Linked DNA regions of Homo sapiens: region 1 is linked to region 2. Evidence: promoter capture Hi-C in 16 types of primary human blood cells and fetal thymus (Javierre and others, 2016). All regions are on one chromosome and are shown on one strand. The core of a region is centred on a gene start or on the middle of the fragment in contact, and the rest is flanking DNA. Distances in the headings are between cores, read along the strand shown.

Region 1 (4,962 bases), core at 1,159-3,658, 6.7 Mb before region 2:
ACATGGATGAATCTTAAATGCAGCTATTACTATGTGAAGAAAATGAGTCTGAAAATGCTACATGCTGTATTATTCCATTTCTATGTCATTCTGGAAAAGTCAAAATTATAGAGATGGTAAACACATCAGTGGTTGCTAGAGGTATAGGAAGGTGGGAGGGTTTAATACTAGATGAAACAAAGGGGATCTTTTTAGAACTACAACTTTTCTGTATGACACTCTAATAATGGTGGATCCATGACACTATGTATGGATTTGTCAAACCCCATAGAAAGAAAATTTGAAGTTAAAAAAATTTTTACTTCTATCCCACTACTGACCAGCTGTCTGCTATTATGTACAGGAAAAGAAAAAAATAAATGTGCATTATGAGGATTGCACAAACAGAACCTAAACGGAGGAAGATTTTTTAAAAAATCTTAGGAACTCAAAGAATCCCAGGAGTAATGCAGATTGTGGCAAAAGATTACAACTGTATTACGAGCATATAAAATAACTTCACTGAGGCCGGGTAGAGGTAGGAGGGAGGGCTGCTGACTTCAGTAACTTTGAAAATAAGTGGAATCTATAAGATTAAAAGCAAAAGAACTATACATAAGCATTGTACTCTAATTGGTAAATCTGTTTCTCACAGGTATACCTGATAACAGTTCAGAAACAACTATACATGTACTCTGAATACGGGTTGACGGTTCTGAATCCATTATACACGTAACCTGGAATTGAACAATTAGGTAAATGGATGGCAGATGATGAGAGCCAGGTGTCTCACACTGGAGTGGAAGGCTACAGACAAGCAAGGGGAGAAGGCTGCAATGATCCATATGGTGCTGGAATTGAACTGAAGATAACAGCTCTAGTATTTGAACCTAGAACGCCTGTGTAGCTGTCAAAGATACAGATGGATACATATATAAATACTTACAGATATGCGTATTTAGTCAGGTTAGCATATCCACAAATATTTCCTTGCTCTGTCAGCTGAGAGTGTCTAGAAGCAACAACATCCCAAATGTCCAAATCTTGATTTCTAATATCATTTTCCATTAAAAGTACCCTTGGCTTTTTGGGGAAGCAGCTGATTCTAGGATTGGGGCAGGGAATATACAAGATGAGCCTGGAGCAACTTATAGAAATTAAGAAAATGCTCAAGAAAAAAAATCAATAAACATAAAACGAGGAGGGTTTGTCAAAAAGACACAAATGCCAACTAAAGGAAATCTCAATAGCCAAAGCTGGAACCAATATGAACAACAAAATAAAGTAGTATTGGATTATAACCCAAAATGTAAAATAAATATCCATGAGTCCATACTGACATAAATGATTGAATACATAAATAAATGCAGTACAGACAAATCTCCCATGCAGAAGAATTCCAAATAATTCATGAAGATATTCTGTCCTCATAAAGGTGGAGTATAACAATTTCCCATTCCTATAGTTTGGGCTGCACAGAGAGATGTCCTTCCAAATAGTATAGTATGGAGAGGAAAAGAAAAACAGTAACTTCACAGTGGAGAAACCTGACAAACCCTACATAGGGAGGTGGAAGGGCTTACTAGATGAAACAAAGGGGATCTTTGTAGAACTATAAAACTTTTCTGTATGACACTGTAATAATGGTGATAAAGGTTAGCATCAACAGTAATAAGTCATGTTGATAGTATATACCCTTGATGTGATGTGATGAGAAGATCACTTTACCTTACCTCTTAACTCAAGAAAAACCCATAACCTCAGTTAATGCATGAGAAAAATACAGGCAAAACCCAATTGAAGGACATTTGACCAAATGACCAATAAGTCGCTTCAAAACTATTAAGGTTATCAAAAACAAGGAAAGTTTGAGAAACGGTCACGGTCCAGAGGAGCCTGGAAGACATGGTGATGTACTCCGGACAGGATCCTGGAATGGAAAAGAATACCAGGTCGAAAACTAAGGACATCTGGAATAAAATATGGGCTTATGGGCTTTAATCAATTTTTAAAAAAGTATTAGATACATGAAAATGATACACGATTTACAAATCAATCGCCTAATATTTATCGAGCATATTGAGAGCCTGGCACTGTGGTAGGGCTGGGGACACAGAAAGAGGTAAGTGCCCTATGCTCAAAAACAGCGATTCATGAAAAATAAACAACTATGACAAAAAGAACAGAAGACTGTATCTCCTGGAGGCAGTAAGGAAGGCTTAAGTTGGGAGGACTATCAAACGCATCAAGGAGTTACTGAAGATTAACTGACCCGCCTAACGCAGGTCGGAAGCCCTCCTATCCATCCACCCAAATCACCCCTGCCCCACCTTTTCTCCTCCCTTGCGTTTACCCAATGGCAGGTCGGCTCCACGTAGGCCTACTTTGCGCGTGCGCATCATCGTTTCGACGCGCTCGGAAGCAACTTCCTTTGCCTGCTCACCGCCAGCGTAGGTGCTACCACCGCTGCCGTCGCCGCCGCCATTTTGATGGCAGGAAGAGTCCGGTTCTGGGACAGCTGGAGACAGTGGTGGTGACTGGTACGGATGGTTTCCGCCCATGTTAGCCCCTCCAAATTTGCCCGTGTTAGGGTTACAGCCCTCGGTATTGCCCGTATTTTCACTGGGTCCCTGTCGTTGTCCCCAGCCATCCTGTCCGTCTGTCTTTAGTCTCTTTTCTGCTTCCTCATCTTTCCGATCAGCCTGAAGCTTTGCTTGGAGCTGTTGTTACGCAGCCCCAACTTCTGTTAAAGCAGCCGCTTCGATCCTCTGGACTGAATTTTGGCCACCCAGCCCCCATTCCCCTCCCGGATCTGGTCCGAGTTGTTTTTCCGCGGCTGTAAACCGGAAGGGCTCTGAGCTGCACTGCCGGCTCCGGGCTGGGGGATCTGTGCCTGGCATGGGGGCGAGTTCTGGCCTCCTTAGGGTACGGGGAGAGCTTGGACTTTGGTCCTGACGTGGTGGACGACACACCTTCGAAGAGTGGACGTTACCTCAGTTGTCTGTTGTTAGAGTTTAATCGATCACTCGTCTGTTTTGTTGTGTTCTTTCCCAGAAATAACTTTACCAAAGGAAAGCTATTTTGCGAACTATCTTCTCCAGCGGAGATGGCCAATGTGAGTAAATTATCTCTTAAGAATCAGCATAGTAAACTCGTTTGGGAATGTTAGGAATGAAAGAACGGGTTTAATTATGATGGCATTGGGTGGTATAGTGTTAGATATAATGTATCAAAAATGTCAAGGGAAGCAAGTGGTGTGAAATTATGTTATGCTTTGAAGATGGTAGCATTCTTTGCACTGCAAATACACTTATTTATACAATTTCATTTGTACAGATGTGGAAATTCAAGCACCCTTTCGGTATTTTTTAAATACAGCGTTTCAGTAAATATTAGAATCTATGTTTAGGCCCTTTTTTAGCTTTTGGGTTAGCTAAACTGAAGGGTTTTTTTAATCTTTTTTTCTTTTTTTTAAAACAGTTTCCATATTGGAAGTGACCTTCTAAATCCTACAAAATAAGAATAGGAGATACTCTCACACACCAGAGATATTTATTGACTGTAACTTTGCAGTGATTAGACACATCCTATCTATAGAATTCATATGTAGCGGTCATAAGACATATATAAAAACAGCTACAATTAAAGTATAAAGTAATAATTTTTTTTAGAACCTACACGAAGGTGCAATGCAGATTCAAGTCTTTGTGGAGAGGAGTTTGGGATCACTTCATGAGGGAAACATTTAACTTGAGGTTTGAAAGATAGGTGGGATTTGTATAGTCTAAAATATGAGCGGGAAGGACAGGAAGGTATATTCAAAGAACTCCCCAACCCGCCTACCCCTTTGAAAAACTGAAAAGTGACTGCTGCCTGCCAACCTGAATGTAAGCTGCATGAAAGAGATAAGTGGGAGATAAGGTTGAATTGTGAGGTTGGTACCAAGTAAATGAGAGCCTTGAATGCCGAACTCAGTAATTTAGACTTCATTCTTTAAATTGTGATTATTCACTTAGAGCTGTGTGCTAGGAAGATTTATATGGCAGCATTTAGCCAGGATGCTATTTCTGTAATTGAACATGGTATATTAAGTCTAAAGTGTGACTATAGAGACAAGTCATAAGAATAGATTACTAGTCTTGGCCAAGTTCTATGGTGAATTTTTGCCTGCCCATAACCTGCACAGAAAGAGAATGCTGTAAAAGAAGTATGTGGTACTTTCAAAGGAGAGAAATTAATTGAAGTAGAATAGAATGCTATTATTTGACCTGGTTTTATTTTGGTTTAAATGAATAAATTATAATAGTTCAGTAGGGAAGATCCTTTTATAAGTCTTTTGTTAGAAAGAAGTTCATATTAAAATAAATTTAAGTTTCAGTATCCAAATGTACGATAACAATTTTTGTGTTAATTTATATGGATTGTAAATTGTGGATGGATGTTACTAATGAAATATGCAGATAGTGTTTCATAACAAGGGGCAAGAATGTTCATGTTTCAGAGTCTAGACAGGTACATTAAGAAGCCTTCATGGGGACTGTGACAAAGCCTTTCTGAACAAAGGGGAGCAACCTTTCCTTAGCTACAGTGATTTGTTGCTAACTAATGCCATTTGGTTATGTGAATCCAATACTGCCAGATCTTCTGAGTTTTCAAGAAGAGCCAAATTTCTGGACCTTTTGTGTAAATATTGCGATTTCTCAATGTTTGTATTTAATTCAAATATCTTGCAACACTGTGGGATGCACAAAAATGTCTGGATAGATGTGGATGCACTACATAAACTACCAGTTTTTAGTTTTTGTACAGACCATATTTTTTCCTCACATGATCAAAAGCAGAACTTAGTCCTAAGGCAGTGCACAAAAGGCACTTTCTCTTTATATACTAATAAGGATTTTACAGTTAAAACATAATAGCATGTCATCTTCCCAAGTCTAGAAGTTTGAATTTAATCATATATAAAATAAATGCTTTTCCTCA
Region 2 (4,749 bases), core at 1,830-4,329:
AGACAATGTAGTTTCATCAAAGATCTGTGAATTATTTGCTATAAAAGCTCTAACCAAACAGTGATGATGTTTAGCTGAGTACATAATCAAATTCTTTCAGGAATCTGAGCTGTGGGATGTGCTTATTCATTCAGTTAGATACAGGAGCTAGAATTTAAAATAATCATAGATAGAAGCTATGAAATGCTAGGGTCTAGGAGGAATACTGTCATAGAATGACTCATTTTTCAAAGTAAAACAGAACCACTGATTGTTAAAGCATGAAAAGCATGAAGTGATTCCAGCAGCAAGTAAGAGTCACTTAGTTACACAATGGCAAGGGATTGAACAGCTATGTCTCCTGAAAAGGTGACAAGACAAGCCCATCTTGCAAGTCACTGAATCCTTCATGCAACATGCTATGTGCAAGTCTCCAGGGGACCCATCTTCTTGGCTATTCCTAAAATTCCATGAGATGTTTTTCTGCCTTACTATCAGATTAGTCTTACTACAAACATATTACTGATGGTAGCTGGACTGAGTTGCTGTTCTACCCTACTGAACTGAACTCTACCTGGGGGCCTGAATCATGTTTAATTTATCTTTATAGACATCTCATTTAGACAGAGTACCCCTGCCGCCAAAGTGGCAGTTCGAGAGAATAAACAAAATTGGTTGATGAATTATTTGACATAATGACATATTACTAGAAGGGCACCCTCTCTCATTCTGACCATATGAGAAAGACTTAGACAAACATTTCTAATGAAATTCAGAATCAAGAGAGCTTGCCTTATATTTGAGACTTTCTTTGGGAGGTCAGCCCTTTGAGTTGATTGGAGGTGACTTTAAACTCTAAGTGGGGTTACTTAAATAAAGAGATTAGTTTGTTACCAACAGATTCTGAATAAAATTCAACTTTCCTTATTTTAAAAATGATACTCATTAGCGTCATTCTATCTGTATCTTATTTAATGCTTGTAATAATCCTGAGGCATCAGAATCCTTTTCCTCTATATTGAGATGAAAACCTGGCACAGACAGAGTAGAAACCAGTGGACTAAAAGGATAGCAGAGTGCACAGTAGGGTACTTAACCATGCCTGAGATGCTGAGTCCATTGTGCTGGTCTTTGGCAAAGCCCATGAATGGAATGCACAGAGCTCAATTCCTCCTCGAAGCCTTGAACCTCTCACTTTATTTTTCCTTGCCTGTTGCTTCCTGATGTGTGTGTGTACGTGTGTGTATTTCTTCAGCTCATTCCCTTTTTCTTTGGCTTCTTTTTTCAGTCCTACACTTAAGCTGCAAAGGACCACAAGCTACGTATGAATTGATTTACCTTTTTAATCCATCCTTCCCAGTCCAGTTTCAGCCAGGCAAAAGTTAAAGTGGCTGGTTCCGCTCCTGGGCCTGTCACATCTGGGGTACCTTGAGATACCTGATGGGCATAGTCTTCCAAATGACTGCACCCTGCCCTACTCCACCACTTGCACAACTTCGCATGGTCTCAAATATAGTCTTTAGTTCCCAGAATAGCATAGTGCACTCACTCTAAGGATGCAATTTATTCACTCATACTAATTGCTGCTTAATTCTGCATTCACCCCAGCAGCTAAGACAATTAGTGTTCACAAGCCATAATGTTATGCCATGTTTAGTTTGCAAATAAAGTGACATGCTCATATTCTGAAAGGAAGAACTTAAATCCAAACTTTTAAAAACTTCAACTTTTACATATTTTACAAATTTTCAAATGTTACATATTTAGTGTTAATTTTATCAAGACGGGGGACATACATACCATATGGTCTCAGACAAATCACCTAACTGCTCTGTATGTCAATGTTATTTAAAGTTAAATTTTACTTTCTTCAAAGGATTATGGTTAAGCTCAAATGACATTAGGTCCTTTATAAAAAGATAAAAGATAGTTTGTAATATTTTTTTAAATTATCAATACCTTCTGATGGACAGCATCAATGTGCCTTCGATTTAGGTTTGGAAATTGTGCTTTCACAATTTTATTTAGACAGCTACAACTTTAAAGTAAAAAGCTTGTATAATAATTAAAAACTGATTGATTTTAACGAAATCACAGAATTCAGAATCTCCTAGTCACCCACTGATTTAGGGCTAAATAGTTAAATAAATGACTGAGTGTCTGGTAGTTAATCTTTACACAGTTTCACATTCATGCCTGAAATAAGCAAATTGTACATAGGAGTTCAAAGTTTAGAACCTGACTTAAAAATATGTTGAGAAAGCGTGTAGTTTTTCATTAGTAAAGAAAAAAGGAAAAACAATATGCATATTGAGCAAGATTCTTTAAGCATATCATTGAGAAATGGGTAACATTACTCTGCTACGAGTGTATATTTCATATCTAGGATATGAATTACTTGCTGAACACGTTAAGAAAATCAATACATTTGCTTCAGTGTTACTACTAAATAACACCCCACTGGCCTCAAAATAAAAGCAGAAAGGAAAAAAGAAAATCTAGTATATTTTTAAAAAGTGTATCAACTTTCTTTTCTTAGGTTTCATAAAATGAAAGGGGAAGAAACTCTGTTCAAGAGTAGGCATTTTCACTTCTCTAAATAAATATTTAATATGACTACTAGCAGCATAAGACAATTAAAGTTACCAGAAAACAGAGGACTTAAAATCTGTTTAAGAATATCTTTCCCTCGTCTGGAGTTTGACCTAATCTTACCGCTTAAACTCAAATAAGAACAGGACTAACTTTGGTTTGTCAAATGTAACCATATTCAGTGCACTATGTTCATCAGTTCTTTTCTATTACATTAGTAAAGATCTTTTCATTTAACCCATTTCTAAAGGTGGGGCCTTTAGGAAGGTCATACCATTTTTATTTACAAAAAGAATATATATAAAAAAAGAAGAGAGTAGCAGAAAAAAACCTCTAAAACACTATGACAAGGATTCTAGCTGACAGAAGTTTCATTTGGAAAAAACATGGAGTAAACATTAGGGTAGAGAGTTTTTATCAGCGCCTCAAGCTTACCAGCTAGGATCCCAATGGAGTGTTTGGCTCCCAGAATCTCTCCAAGAACCTCTCAAGAATTCCTTGAAAATGTACAGGCCAGATCTTAGGGTGAGAAATTCAAAGAACTGCTCAGACTCCACCCAGTGGAGAATTTATAAATATTTTACTTTACTTCCTCTCCCCTAACCAATCGGTAATCTCCAGCCACTGTCAGAAATTTAAGCAACATGTGCTCCTGCCCACCATTTCAAATGCCAGAGCCTCCAGTGAGGGCTTCTTTCCAGAGGCAACTTTGCTCTTTAAACTCAGGTAAACACACACTTGTCCTTTAACTATATAAATCTCTGACCCCTGAACTGATGAGTTGGTCTTAGAGCTAAATTCCAAATTTTGCCTTTCTTCTTCACTTTGAGCTCTGGATTTTTGAGACAATACCCTCCTTCAAATACACTGAGGATTTTCAGTCTGATGGTTGAATCTATGACATTTAATGGGTAAACTTTTTAGTCAAAAGTTTAAAATAGGCTCTCAATTCCAGAATACACTCTATTGCCTAATATGTGAGTTTTCAAAAACTCCTAGGTAATAAATCTGGACAGTTAACAAGACAATGAAGGAAGAAAGATCTGAAGATTCAAGTGGAAACTAGCCTGGCAAACTTCATTAATGCAAATTATTCATTTAAGTCTGTGAATTGTCTTTTGTTCTAGTCTGACTACCTCTTTAGGCTTATTCCTGAGCTTGGGTCTTTTGATGAATATCCTTGTAGTTATAAAAACTAAGAGCAAAGACTTTCGATATTAGGACTAGGGATGAAGAATGTGCTTGAATAATTGAATGACTTATGCACACCTATGCTTTATTTAGTAACCCACAACAAATCAAGTAAAGTGTCATTTAATCATTTCTATCAAGTGTTCATTGTATAACCCTGAGCAATTCACTTAACCCTTGTGGAGGCTCAGTCTCCTATTTATCAAATGAACTTAATAATACCTTCCTCCCAAGATTACTGAAACGATAAAACCATGCAGGTTGAAGGCCATAGATACCATGACACTCAAGTCAAAAGTGACATATTGTCTTTTTTTTAATCTTAAGTAACCAGACAAAAAGTACTACTCTCCAGTTTCCAAGAGAGGGAGATAAAGTGCATGAAATTGCTTTAATACGAGTAATTGACCAGTGAAAATAAAATATATTTCACTTCATTGATCCTATCCTTACAATAATCCTATAAAGTAAGTAGACTACCAATTGATTAACTTAGAATAGTAAAAGTTTGAATCCATTCAGGAAATTTCAGAAGGTGTACTTTTTTTGCATCTATTCTGTGTATGCCTCATGCTGTAAAAACTTTGGAAGATTACCAGGCTCTAATATATGGGGAGCGAACCAGAGGGCGGATCTGTGTCATTTTTGTGTCACTCTTTTAAAGACTGACTATAGATTTAGAGAGCTAGATATGGACATTAAGGTTTTGTTTTCACAAGATCTTGCTTCTTCTAAAATCTTGTAATAATATGATTAAAAATTTCATCAAAATATTATCTTAAAAACTACTGTTTAACTTGTCACCTTTAAAGAACTTGCTTGGAGGTCTAAGCTATACTTCTATTTCTTATGTTTTATAAATTTCTTTCTTTCTTTAAATTTGTTACATTTGAGGAATAAAAATAAAATCCCAAGCCCCTAGATTAACTGAACGGACACGCTCTTGGCCAAGGGGATCCCAGAGTAAACTTGAAAACTAAGTTTTTG

What was found. Contacts are between HindIII fragments. The CHiCAGO score rates a contact against its expected background, and 5 or more counts as called.
Region 1: a contact is called between the fragment with the promoter of MMADHC here and the fragment with the promoter of KYNU in region 2, in 1 of 17 cell types (total B cells). The highest score is 5.9, in total B cells.

The regions. Positions count from the first base shown.
Region 1 is chr2:149,585,221-149,590,182 of GRCh38, reverse strand. It overlaps MMADHC (metabolism of cobalamin associated D), which reads left to right and starts at 2,408. Exons shown (of 8, transcript NM_015702.3): 1 at 2,408-2,519; 2 at 3,034-3,094. The coding sequence starts at 3,086. MMADHC-DT (MMADHC divergent transcript) reads right to left here and starts at 2,825. Exons shown (of 3, transcript NR_110240.1): 1 at 2,333-2,825. RefSeq lists enhancers at 2,362-2,681, 1,998-3,197. The HindIII fragment of the contact is 5,011 bases long and covers 1-2,689 here.
Region 2 is chr2:142,875,994-142,880,742 of GRCh38, reverse strand. It overlaps KYNU (kynureninase), which reads right to left and starts at 3,079. Exons shown (of 14, transcript NM_003937.3): 1 at 3,007-3,079. The HindIII fragment of the contact is 4,288 bases long and covers 3,004-4,749 here.